Linked DNA regions of Homo sapiens: all the other regions are linked to region 2. Evidence: promoter capture Hi-C in human tissues and cell types (Jung and others, 2019). All regions are on one chromosome and are shown on one strand. The core of a region is centred on a gene start or on the middle of the fragment in contact, and the rest is flanking DNA. Distances in the headings are between cores, read along the strand shown. Region 1 has its middle 38 kb from the start of KCNV1. Region 2 holds the start of KCNV1 (potassium voltage-gated channel modifier subfamily V member 1). Region 3 has its middle 40 kb from the start of KCNV1.

Region 1 (4,160 bases), core at 879-3,378, 37 kb before region 2:
CTCCGTCAAAGAAAGAGAAAGAAAGAGAGGGAGGGAGGGAGGGAGGAAGGAAGGAAGGAAGGAAGGAAGGAAGGAAGGAAGGAAGGAAGGAAGGAAGGGAAACATCACCCTGAAATCTCATCTTCTCCTTAAGCTATAGATGCAGTTGACTTTTTCTTTTTTTTTTTTTTTTTTGAGACAGAGTTTCACTCTGTCGCCCAGGCTGGCAATGTTTACCATTGATAGAAATGTTTATTTAAATAGAAGTGAAAAAATAGTAATGACATAATAATGCTGATATAATAATATTTATATGATATATTCAGGTTACCATTTTGCCTAAGAAAACGAAAGCTATCTTCTAGAATGGCGCAGAAAGGAGCAGCTTAAAAGAGACATTCTGAATAAGAATGGCTTATCTCTTTCAGATAAGCCAGTGCTTCCTACAGTAATGACATGGAAATCCATCTATTATATACAGTCAATGGGATTGCAATACCCAAATCTTCCTCTCAAGGAAAATAGATGAGGAGATTTCTTGGTCATAATCAGAGATTGCAATGGTGTTGAATAGGCAACATAATATGAATATCCTCTTAAATATAAAGGCCAAACTAAACTGATCTGTTTTTATCCATGCAACTATTTGTTAGCATCTTTGCAGGAGGTAAGTCTCTCTCTCTCTTTTTTTTAGACTAGGTCTTGCTCTGTTGTCCAGGGTGGAGTGCGGTGTCAAGATGCAGCCATGACTTCCCAGGCTCAAGTGATCCTCCCACCTCAGCCTCCCGAGTAACTGAGACTACAGGCATGTGCCACCATGCTAGGCTAATTATTTACTTTTTTTTTTTTTTTTATAGAGAATAGGCCTCACTATGTTGCCCAGGCTAGTCTTGAATTCCTGGGCTCAAGCAAACCACCTGCCTTAGCCTCCCAAAGTGCTGTGATTACACATGTGAGCCACTGTGCCCAGCCTAGAGGTAAGTGTCTTCTAATGGAAACAAATAAATAGCTAGTGCCCTTATAATTATGCTGAAGTAAAATAAGCCTGAGAGAGAAAATAACCTATCTGGAATCAAATTATTACGTGCAGTGTGGACAGTGTGGATATAGAATTTGATTAAACATTTAAATGAGCATTTAAGAAAATAACTAAAATGTAATTTTGAAGGGAATTTTAAACAACCTCATATTTCACTGGAATTGTTAATCCTCCTGTCTTCACATTTTAAAGGCTGAATTATTAAACATTATAATAATATCTTAGTCACCTTAAGTGTCAAATAAATTACTTAGAGAAGTGATCTGAGACTTTCAGTGAATCATTAAAGACTCCTTTTTTTGTGACTTAGTCCCTTCTCTCTGGAACAAAATAACATATATTTTGATACAACACATTGTTAAAATCAGAAAAAAATTGTTTTAAGTTTCTTCAACTTTTGAATAAATTTTATTTGAAGTAGTTTTTGAGTACAAAAACATTAAGAAGATAGTAGAGAGTTCCCATATACTACTCTACAAAGTTCTTTCCATTGTTAACATCTTTCATGTTAGCATTGCATTGTTACAATTACTTGACACAATTAATAACTAATATAATATTAAATACAGTTTATAATTTATTCAGAGGTCCTTAGTATTTACCTAATACCCTTTTCTGCCCCAGTTTTCTATCCAAGATACCACTAATTACATTTAGTTATCGTGTCTCTTTATGATCTGCCTGGATGTGAGAGTTTCTCATACTTTCTTTGTTTTTGATGCCTTGAAAATTGTGAGGAATACTGGTCAGCCATACAGTAGGATTCTTCTTTCTGGGAATATGGCAGACTATTGTAGGATTCTACTCTCTTAAAATTTGCCCATTGTTTTTCTCATGATTAGACTGGGGTTATGGGTTTTGGAAGGAAGATCACAGAGGTAAAATTTCATTTTCAAAAAATCATATCAAAGGTATTAGTCAGGGTTCTCTAGAGGAACAAGACTAATAGAATATATATAGATAGATATAGATATATATCTTATTATATATAAAACACTATATATAATATAGTGTTTAGGTTTAAAATGAAAATTGCAAAAATAAAATTTTGGTCTAAAACTTATAAATTATATGTGAATATAATGTAACAGAAAAATGACAATAAAATGTTTCATGCAATTTTTAAATACTGCCTACATATTTTTCCATGAATATAATAAAATGTATTGTGTATTGAGCATATAATAAGTACCCTACTTTTTATATACTTCATCTCTACTCTTTATGACAAACATAAATTATTCTCTTTTTATGCCCATTTGAAAAGAAGGAAAAATGCCAACATGGCAAGATTGTGATTACACTCCAAATTTGTCTTGAGTCCAAAAACTGTTGCTTTTCAGTGTATGATATTGAAGTTCAGTTGAAGATTTGCTGTCTCAAATAACAGTCAATAACTAGTATAATCAGCAAAGGTCAATAGGTAGCTCCTTGTGAAACAGACTTAGACATAAATTTGAAAAAATAATTAAGCCTTAATACAATTTTTAATTATAGGGAGGACAAGGTCCCACAATAGGCTGTTTGCAAGCTTGAGGAGCAAGGAGAGCCAGTCCAAGTCTCAAAACTGAAGAACTTGGAGTCCAATGTTAGAGGGCAGGAAGAATCCAGCAGGGAGAAAGATATAGGCTGGGAGGCTAGGCCAGTCTCTCTCTTTTTCACGTTTTTCTGCCTGCTTTATATTCACTGGCAGCTGATTAGATTGCGCCCACCAGGTTCAGGGTGGGTCTGCTTTTTCCAGCCCACTGACTCAAATGTTAACCTCCTTTGGCAACACCCTCACAGACACACCCCAGGATCAATATTTTGCATGCTTCAATCCAATCAAGCTGACACACAGTATTAACCATCACAAGTCTACCCGTTTTCAACTTGAACCCATACTCATCTCCTAAGATAATACATAATTTTCAAATAAAGACAATAATAAGGTCATAATTACACCTAACATAATACAAGTATCCTTCATACAACTGGAAACACACCAATCCCCAACCCAAATACTATTACATAAAGTTAATAATACTTAAATGCTGATATGAAGTCAATAAATTTTATGTCACATGATAAAGGAAAAGGAAATAAAATGAAGAGATTTTCTTAGTACAAGTGTATCCATGCACAAACATGCTTTTAACAACAGAAAGAGGAAATACTCATGACAGTTACAATCCTCATTTCTGCAGCTGGTCACGTGGTCGTAGCTGGTATTGATGACTACCTTCTTCTACTACCCATTCTGTATTCCCTTTGCCTTCAGCAAGCACCTCAGCAGGTTGTGGTTTTTTTCCTGGTGGAGTGACTCAAGCCTTCATTCCTGAGGGGTCTGGACCATTTGTAGTCCGGCCTGGATTGGGCTGTTGTAGTTTTCCACTCACCTTAATCAGGGCAGGGTAATACTAAGAGATGCCCTAATAGATCTCCTGTATTGAATGCATACTCTTTCTTACCTTTGTTACGGAGTAGTAGACTGATTTCATCTTAACAGTCTGGGTCAATCACCCCAGCCAACACTGTAACTCCCTTCTTAGCCTGTTGACTTAAAGGTAGGAGGAGCCCAAAGTGTCCAGGTGGCAATGCTAACTTCCAGTTTAATGGAATCATTGTTGTGTCCCCTGGTGGCAGCATTCCTTCCTCTGGAACTAAGACTTCTAGGTCAGTAGAAAATAATGTTGCAGGAACAGGAAGCAAAAATTTTGCTAGTGGGTCAGTAGGGGTGATGGTGAGTGGTGCCACTTTCACTTCCACCCCTTGATTCCTAGACCTATTAATCCTGGCTATGGGAAAAACAGTACCATATGTTGGATGCTGGTTATTCAGAACACACACGGCCTTCTGGAGAACTGCAAACTATTGTCACCTAGTTTGCCCTGCAAACTGTTGTCACCTAGTTTGCCCTGCAAATTGTTGTCACCTAGTTTGCCCTGTAGACTGTTGTCACCTAGTTTGCCCTGCAGACTGTTGTCACCTAGTTTGCCCTGCAGACTGTTGTCACCTAGTTTGCCCTGCAGGCTGTTGTCACCTAGTTTGCCCTGCAGGCTGTTGTCACCTAGTTTGCCCTGCAGACTGTTGTCACCTAGTTTGCCCTGCAGGCTGTTGTCACCTAGTTGGCATTGTAATTGTTACTTCAAAAGGCCATTCC
Region 2 (3,772 bases), core at 244-2,743:
GAGCGCCAAGGGCTCCCCTTCACCCTCGCTGCAGAAGACACTAGAGTCCAGGGAGGTCAGGGAGCCGCTGTCCAGCGGCGAGTCCAGCAGCGCTCTGCCGCTGGAAGGCATCTCTAACCCAGTCGCCGCGGCCTGAGGGCGCCACAAAGTTGGGGACACGCCGGAAGCTTTGGTCCCGCGAGGGCGGTGGCACGGCCCCTGGTGGCGGCCGGGATTCCCCGGGCTCCCGAAGGGGTTACCTCTCCTTGGCGCACCCTCTCCACCCGCTGTGCGCCTTCCTCCTCCTGCCGCTAGGGAGCCGGGAGTGCGCGGAAGCAGCGCACAAGTGGCAGAAAGAGGAGACAGGGAGCAGAGGAAGGGTCGCGCTAAGAGAGAGGATCAGGTGAGGTCCAAGCCCGACACAGTCCCTGTGCACACTGCCGGTCGCCCTGGCCCTTCCCAAACGTTGTCACCCCGCCTCCCAACTTCGCAATTGCGATTCCCAGCCCAGGAGGTGTACAGATTGAATGACTCGCTACTTGGTGGGTGGAGGGGTTGGGGAAGGGAGGAAGGAGGGAGATGTGGGGCGGAGGAGGAGGAAGAGGAGAGAAGATGACTCTTAGCTGAACGCAAGCAAGCAAGCAAGCAAGGGGGATGGCGAGACTCACTCCTGCCCGCAGGAGACCAAAACAAAAAGTTCAGAAAGCAAAGGAAGTGGTAACCGGGTCCCTTCCAACTTGAGAATTTATATTCCTCCCTTTTCTTTTACTGCTGCTTCATAGGCCTCCCCCGGGGTGTTCGCTGGGGGTGTGAGCAGGTGGGGGAGGGTTCTCTGGGTGAGGGGGCCGCACCATTTTCTCCCAATTCACTCTCATTCTAGTCTGATGATCACTGACGCTCCATTTTCTTCCGCCGTCTCCCTTAGGTTCTGACCTCCTGGTTGAGAAACAAGAATAATTAATGATGACTTTTTATTGAAGACCCAGTGGGTCACTAAGAACTAGGAGTGTCACTGTCAGCTCCCACCCTGTCGAGGGTCCACCTCGTGTTGAGGCACTTTTTTGAGGCACCCTTCCTTTTAACCATTTCTGTCCCTACAAGTTTCCCGGAGAGCAGGTGTTCTGAGCACAGCGGAGCTCTCATTTTAGAAGGAAAGGCAAAAAGACAAGGAATAGAACAAGCGTGGGCTGGGGCAGGAATTTAAATAGTAACGACGGCCTCCCTCGGTAAAGGGAGAAGCCGAGGCCAGCGCCCAGGTGAGACTAGAAGTGTACCCACGGGGCCCCTGGAAGCTGCGCTCCAGCCAACCTGTTGGACTCGGGGTGAGGAGGTGGGGGTGGGAGGGAAGAGCAAGTGACTCACCTGCAGCTCCCGGCACATCTGGTCTGCGCACAACCGGCGCCGCAGGTAACGTACTCTTCTTTTGATCCTCTTAGTCTACACGTGAGGTCTGACTCGACCGGTCCAGGAGGGAAACTGTGTTCCAGCTGAGCTCTACCCAGCGCCTGCTGCCTTGCCTTGCCCCGCCTCCACCTCCCTCCGGGCTCCTGGCCCCTGCGCTTACGCTAAGCGTGTCCGCCCCGCCCGCTCTAGCTCTGAGAGCCACTCGCCCAGTGCTTCCAGCACCAGCAGAGGGGAGTGGCAGGATCTAAGGGAGGGAGGTGAGACGGCGGGGGTGGAGGCGGGGGGTAGTGAGGTGCCCGGTGACACTCAATATTACATTCATCCTGAATACACTTGCAGAATTACTGCATTTGATTCCCGTTTCCCCGGATCTGTGCTTTTGTAAATGCTCCAGAGCAAAATTTCCAACTGGATCAGTGTGCTAAACTTGAGGTTAGGGCAGTTATATTAACTGCTTCATTTGGCATGGTTCAAGGTTTTCACATTTTCAGCAGGCATCTCAGAATCATGCATTTTTCAAGTCTTTGCCAGAGAGAGTGAACCACACTCATCTTCGTTGTTTTCTAGTATGTATATATAGAATACATATTGGAAAGCATATATTATGGATACACTTACATATATAAGTATATATTAGAAAGCATACACACACACACGTATTAGGTAGTATATATAAAGACATAAGCAGGCAGCCTGATGTAGTAGAATAAGCTTTTTCATAGATTGGACAGAAACGTGACTGTTTAGTTCTAGCTTTGCCAACTGGCTGTGGGACGTCTAGCTATCATTTACTTTGAGGGTCTCAGTGCCTTCCTCAGTGAAATTTCAAGCTTTAATGAAAACACCCAACATTTAATGGGTGCTTACTTTATGCCAGGAAATTTGTAGGCTCTTTATTCATGCAGTACCTTATTTAATCATAATGACAACACTATGAGGTAGCATATATCCATTTTACAGAAAGGAAAAGTGAGGCACAGGGAAATTAAGTGATTTGCAAAGGGCCACACAGTTCAAATCAAACCCAGGACTACATGTCAGAGGCTGCCTTCATAAACAAAATTCTAGAAACATTATTTTTTGTTGATAAATCAGTGTGATTGTTTTTATTTTCTTTGTTTACAAGTTTCTAATGAAGGACAGGAGTTTAATGAGGTATTTTCATCACTCTTTCAACAAAAGTTTACTGAGCATTCACTATATACTGGCACTATTCAAGGTACTTGCGATGTATCAATGAAGAATAGACAAGATCTCTGTTGTTGTGGAGCTTATAGTAATCCTCTGAGAATAAATGGGGGACTTCAATAAACTTTTTTAAACTATAATATTTATAAGCATGGTTCTTTTGACAGCCATCCATTTGGTTAACTTTTCTCCTTAAAGAACTCTTCCATACAGTAAATACAGAAATGCTAGAATTATCCCAGTCAACAGTTCTTCATTCTGTATAGGTACTGTATCGTTATTATTTTTTAATGTAGCAGAGCTTTCCCCTGCACAGCAAGAAAACTCCTCCAGCATCTCAATTGTAGATTATATAGGTATTGAAAAAAAGCAAAAGGCCATAGTTCTGTTAAGGCTTATTCATACCATGATTAGCAATGAAAGTCTATACTAGCTTTACAGATTATGGTGAGGAAAGAGGAAAGCATTCAAAGGAGAATGCCAGCTTTAGGTGAGGAGAGAGATCTTGGACAGGTAACCAGAGGTTAGTGAAAGATGACTGAGGCTTCCAGGTCTCCTCCCCTGCCAGTAAGCCACTGAACCTCAGTTATGATGAATGTTGTCCTGTAGAAGTAGTTATAATAACCTCTCCTTAAGAGTCAGGCTGTTTGCTACACATCTGACTTCTCACAATGATCCTATGAAGTAAGCATTGTAATCCTTAGTTATAGATTTCAACTTGGATGCTTATAGGCACTAAGAAAGTAACTTTCTACCTTACATAGTGAATATGTAAAGGGGTATGTGAAAGGCTTGAAACAGGCCCTTTCTGACTTCTGACTCTATCTCAACTGCTAACAGCGTAAATGTTTCAATTGGGCACTGATTGTAGTTATAGCAATTTACACTCATCAAGGCAATCATAACTAGAGGGATGATTAGTCAACATGGAGTATATAAATATAAATGACCCCTTTTTAAAATATAGAGTCTTGAGTAATACAAATCCCCACCTGTGCTCTGTGCCCTTCCCTTAAGTCTGTTGATTTTCCTTCCTTGATGGCCCAGATTTTAGTAAGAGACTCCAAGGAAGAGCATAACATAGAATAAGAAGGGAAACATGTCCACTTGAAAGATACTTCTTTTAGCCCTAATCCTGACCTGAGGTATAACCTGAGGCATGTCAAAGGAGAACTGCTGATAAGTAGTTGGGGGTGGTGAG
Region 3 (4,032 bases), core at 1,081-3,580, 41 kb after region 2:
TTTGTTTGCTCTTGGTTCTCTAGTTTTTTGTTATGATGCTAGGTTGTTAACTTGAGATCTTTCTAGCTTTTGGATATGGACATTTAGTGCTATATGTATATTTCTCTTAACACTGCTTTAGTGGTATCCCAGAGGTGCTGGCACATTGTCTCTTTTTTTTTCTTATTAATTTCAAATAACTTCTTGATTTCTATCTTAATTTTATTATTTATCCAAAAGTTATTCAGGAGCAGGTTGTTCAATTTCCATGTAGCTGTATGGTTTTGAATGAATGTCTTAATCTTGAGTTCTAATTTGATTGCACTGTGGTCTGAAAGACTGTTATGATTTCAGTTCTTTCGCATTTGGGGGAGTGTTTTACTTCCAATTATGTGATCAATTTTAGAGTAAGTGCCACGTGGCAATGAAAAGAATATATATTCTATTGTTCTTGAGTGGAGACTTCTGTAGATATCTATCAGGTCTACCTGATCCAGAGATGAATTCAGGTTTTACATATCTTTGTTAATTTTCTGTCTCATTGATCTGTCTAATAATGTCACTGGGGTGTTAAAGCCTCCCACTTATTATTGTGTGGGAGTCTAAGTCTCTTTGAATGTTTCTAATAACTTGCTTTATGAATCTGGGTGCTCCTGTATTGGGTGCATATATATTTAGGATAGTTAGCTCTTTTTGTTGAATTGAACCGTTTACCATTGTGTAATACCCTTCTTTGTCTTTTTTGATTTTTGTTGGTTTAAAATCTGTCTTTTCAGAAACGAGGATTGCAACCCCTGTTTTTTTCTATTTTCCTTTTGCTTGGTAATTTTTCTTCCATCTCTTTATTTTGAGCCTATGTGGTCTTTGTATGTGAGATGGGTCTTTTGAAGACAGCATACTGGTGGGTCTTGATTCTTTATCTAGCTTGCCATTCTGTGTCTTTTAATTGGGGTATTTAGTCTATTTACATTTAAGGTTAGTATTATTATGTGTGGATTTGATCTTGTCATTATGATGCTAGCTGGTTATTTTGCAAACTTGTTTATGTTTTGTTTTTCCTTTGCTTTTTACATTTTATGTATAGTTATGCTTTGATTCTTATTTTTTTCTACTAATTTTTTTTCTTTTCTAGTTCCTTGAGGTGCATTGTTAGGGTTGTTTATTTGAAATCATTCTACTTTTTTGCTATAGGTGTTAATTCCTATAAAATTCCCTGTAGGCACTGCTTTTGCTGTATCTCATAGGATTTAGTATGTTGTATTTTCATTTTTGTTCATTGCAAAAAATTCTTTTATTCCCTTCTTAATTTCTTCATTAATCAAATGGTTATTTAGGAGCATGCTGTTAAATTTCCATGTATTTGCAGGTTTTCAAAATTTATCTTGTTATTAACTTCTAGTTTTATTCTATTGCAGTCCTAGAAAATACTTAATATAATTTAGTTTTAAAAAATTTATTAAGACTTGTTTTGTGGCCTAACATATGGTCTATCCTGTTGAATGTTCCATATGCTGGTGAGAAGAATGTGTATTCTTCAACTGTTGGATGAAATGTTCTGTAAATATCTGTTAGATCTACTTGGTCTAAAGTGCAGTTTAAATCCAGTGTCTCTTTGTTGATTTTTTTTTTTTTTTTGGTCTAGGTGATCTGCCCTATGCTAAGAGTGAGGTGTTGAGGTCCTCAACTATTATTGTATTGGTGGCAATTTATCTCTTTAGATCTAATAATATTTTCTATATATATCTGGGTGCCCTCTTGTTGGGTACATTTATATTTAGAATTGTTATATCCTTTTGCTAAATTGATTCCTTTAACATTATATAATATCCTTTTTTTGTTTCTTTTTACAGCTTTTGAATTGAATAATTTTTTTTTTTTTTTTTGAGACAAAATCTCCCTCTGTCGCCCAGGCTGGAGTACAGTGGTGCGATCTTAGCTCACTGCAACCTCTGCCTCCCGGGTTCAAGCGATTCTTCTGAGTAGCTGGGATTACAGGCATGCGCCACCACCCCTGGCTAATTTTTGTATTTTTAGTAGAGATGGGATTTCACCATGTTGGTCAGTCTGGTCTCAAACTCCTGACCTCGTCATCTGCCCGCCTTGGCCTCCCAAATTGTTGGGATTAGAGGCATGAGCCACTGTGCCCAGCCAGTCTGTTTTATCTGATATAAATATAGCTACTCCTGCTCACCTTTTGTTGCTATTTTCATGAAATCTTTTTATACCTTTTCACTTTCAGATTATATGTGTCTTTAGAGGTAAGTGAGTTTCTTATAGGCTTCATATAATTGTCATTTTTTTTAAAATTCATGCAGCTAGTCTCTGTCTTTTAAGTGGGAAATTTAGTACACTTACATTCAAGGTTATTGATAAATGAGGATTTACTCCCATCGTTTTGTTATTTGTTTTCTGATTGTTTTATATATCCTGTAATTTTTTCTTCCCTTTTTATTGTTTATCATTGTGGTTTGGTGGATTTATATAGTGGTAACATTTGATTCATTCCTCTTTCTCACTTGTGTGTCTGTTTTACCGGTGGGTTTTATGCTTTTGTGTGTTTTCATAATTGTAAATATTATCTTTTTCTCCACATGCAAAATTCACTTAAGTATTTCTTTAGGGTTGGTTGATTGGTGATGAATTCCTTCAGTTTTTGGTTGTCTGAGAAAGACTTTATGTCTTCTTCATTTTTGAAGGTAAGCTTTGCAGTGTATTGTATTCTTGGCTAGCATTTTTTTTTTCTTCTCAGTTCTTTGAATACATTATCCCATTCTCACCTGGCCTGTAAAATTTCTGCTGAGAAATCTGCTGTTAGTTTGATGAGGATTCCCTTATGTATGACTTGACATTATCTCTTTTATAATAATTGCTGTTTTTATAATTCTCCCTTTGTTTGACTTTTGAAAATTTGATTCTAATATACCTTGGAGAAGATCTTTTTGTGTTAAATCAATTTGGAAATTTTTAAGTTTCCCCTATCTGAATGTCTATATGTGTTACATGACTTGGGAAGTTTTCTGCTATTATTTTGTTTAAACGATTTTATATGTTTTGCCCATTCATCTCTTCTCCTTCTAGAACACCTAGTTCAAACATTTGGTTACTTTATGATGTCCCCTATGTCACGTAAGATTTATTTATTGTTTTTTATTGCTTTATTATTTTCCTCTTTATCTAACTGGGTAGTTTTATTTTACTTTATTTTTTATCCATCCCCTCAAACATTTATCATTTGAGTTTAATAATTCAATTACATTCTTTAAGTTACTTAAAAATATACAAGTAATTTATTACTAACTACAGTCACCCTATTGTGCTATCAAATAGGAAGTCTTATTCACTATTTTTTTTTTGTACTCATTCATTGTCTCCACCTTCCTCCCACCCCCGCTTCCCAGTTTCTGGTAACAATCCTTATACTCTCTATATTCATGAGTTCAATTGATTTGATCTTTAGATTCCACGAATAAGTGAGAACATGTGATGCTTGTCTTTCTGTGACTGGCTTATTTCACTTAATGTAATGATCTCTGTTCCATCCATATTGTTGCAAATGACTGGATCTCATTCTTTTTATGGCCAAATAGTTATCCAGTGTATATATGCACCACATTTTCTTTATGCATTCATCTGTTGATGGACACTTAGGTTGCCCCAAACTTTAGCTATTGGAAACAGTGCTGCGACAAACATAGGAGTGCAGATATCTCTTTGATATACTGATTTCCTTTCTTTTGAGCATAATTGGGTAATTTAAAGACTTGTCTCCAGGTTTAGAAATTTTTTCTTCTGCTTCATCTAGTCTATTGTTGAAACTGTTTATTGTATTTTAAAATTTCATTTATTAAATTCTTCAGTTCCAGGGTTTTTGCTTCATTTTTCTGAATCTAACTCTTTGTTAAATTTCTCCTTTAGATCATGAATTGTTTTTCTAATTTCTTTGTATTTTTTATGTTTTTTCATTTCCATCTCATTGAGCTTCTTTTATATCATCATTTTGAACTCTTTTTCAATTTTTTCATAGATTTCTTTTTTCGTGGAACCTATTGCTGG

The links. The method cuts DNA at HindIII sites, captures the fragments that hold promoters and counts their contacts. A contact is called where the count stands out against the background at its distance.
Region 1: a contact is called between a fragment that was not itself captured here and the fragment with the promoter of KCNV1 in region 2, in 1 of the 25 tissues and cell types used here (pancreas).
Region 3: a contact is called between a fragment that was not itself captured here and the fragment with the promoter of KCNV1 in region 2, in 1 of the 25 tissues and cell types used here (adrenal gland).

The regions. Positions count from the first base shown.
Region 1 is chr8:109,936,165-109,940,324 of GRCh38, forward strand. No RefSeq gene overlaps it. Among named protein-coding and RNA genes, the nearest start is that of KCNV1, 38 kb to the right of the region's middle. The HindIII fragment of the contact is 4,605 bases long and covers 1-4,160 here.
Region 2 is chr8:109,974,278-109,978,049 of GRCh38, forward strand. KCNV1 (potassium voltage-gated channel modifier subfamily V member 1) reads right to left here and starts at 1,494. Exons shown (of 4, transcript NM_014379.4): 1 at 1,342-1,494; 2 at 1-915. The coding sequence starts at 111. RefSeq lists an enhancer at 1-580. The HindIII fragment of the contact is 3,330 bases long and covers 1-3,193 here.
Region 3 is chr8:110,013,995-110,018,026 of GRCh38, forward strand. No RefSeq gene overlaps it. Among named protein-coding and RNA genes, the nearest start is that of KCNV1, 40 kb to the left of the region's middle. The HindIII fragment of the contact is 7,276 bases long and covers 1-4,032 here.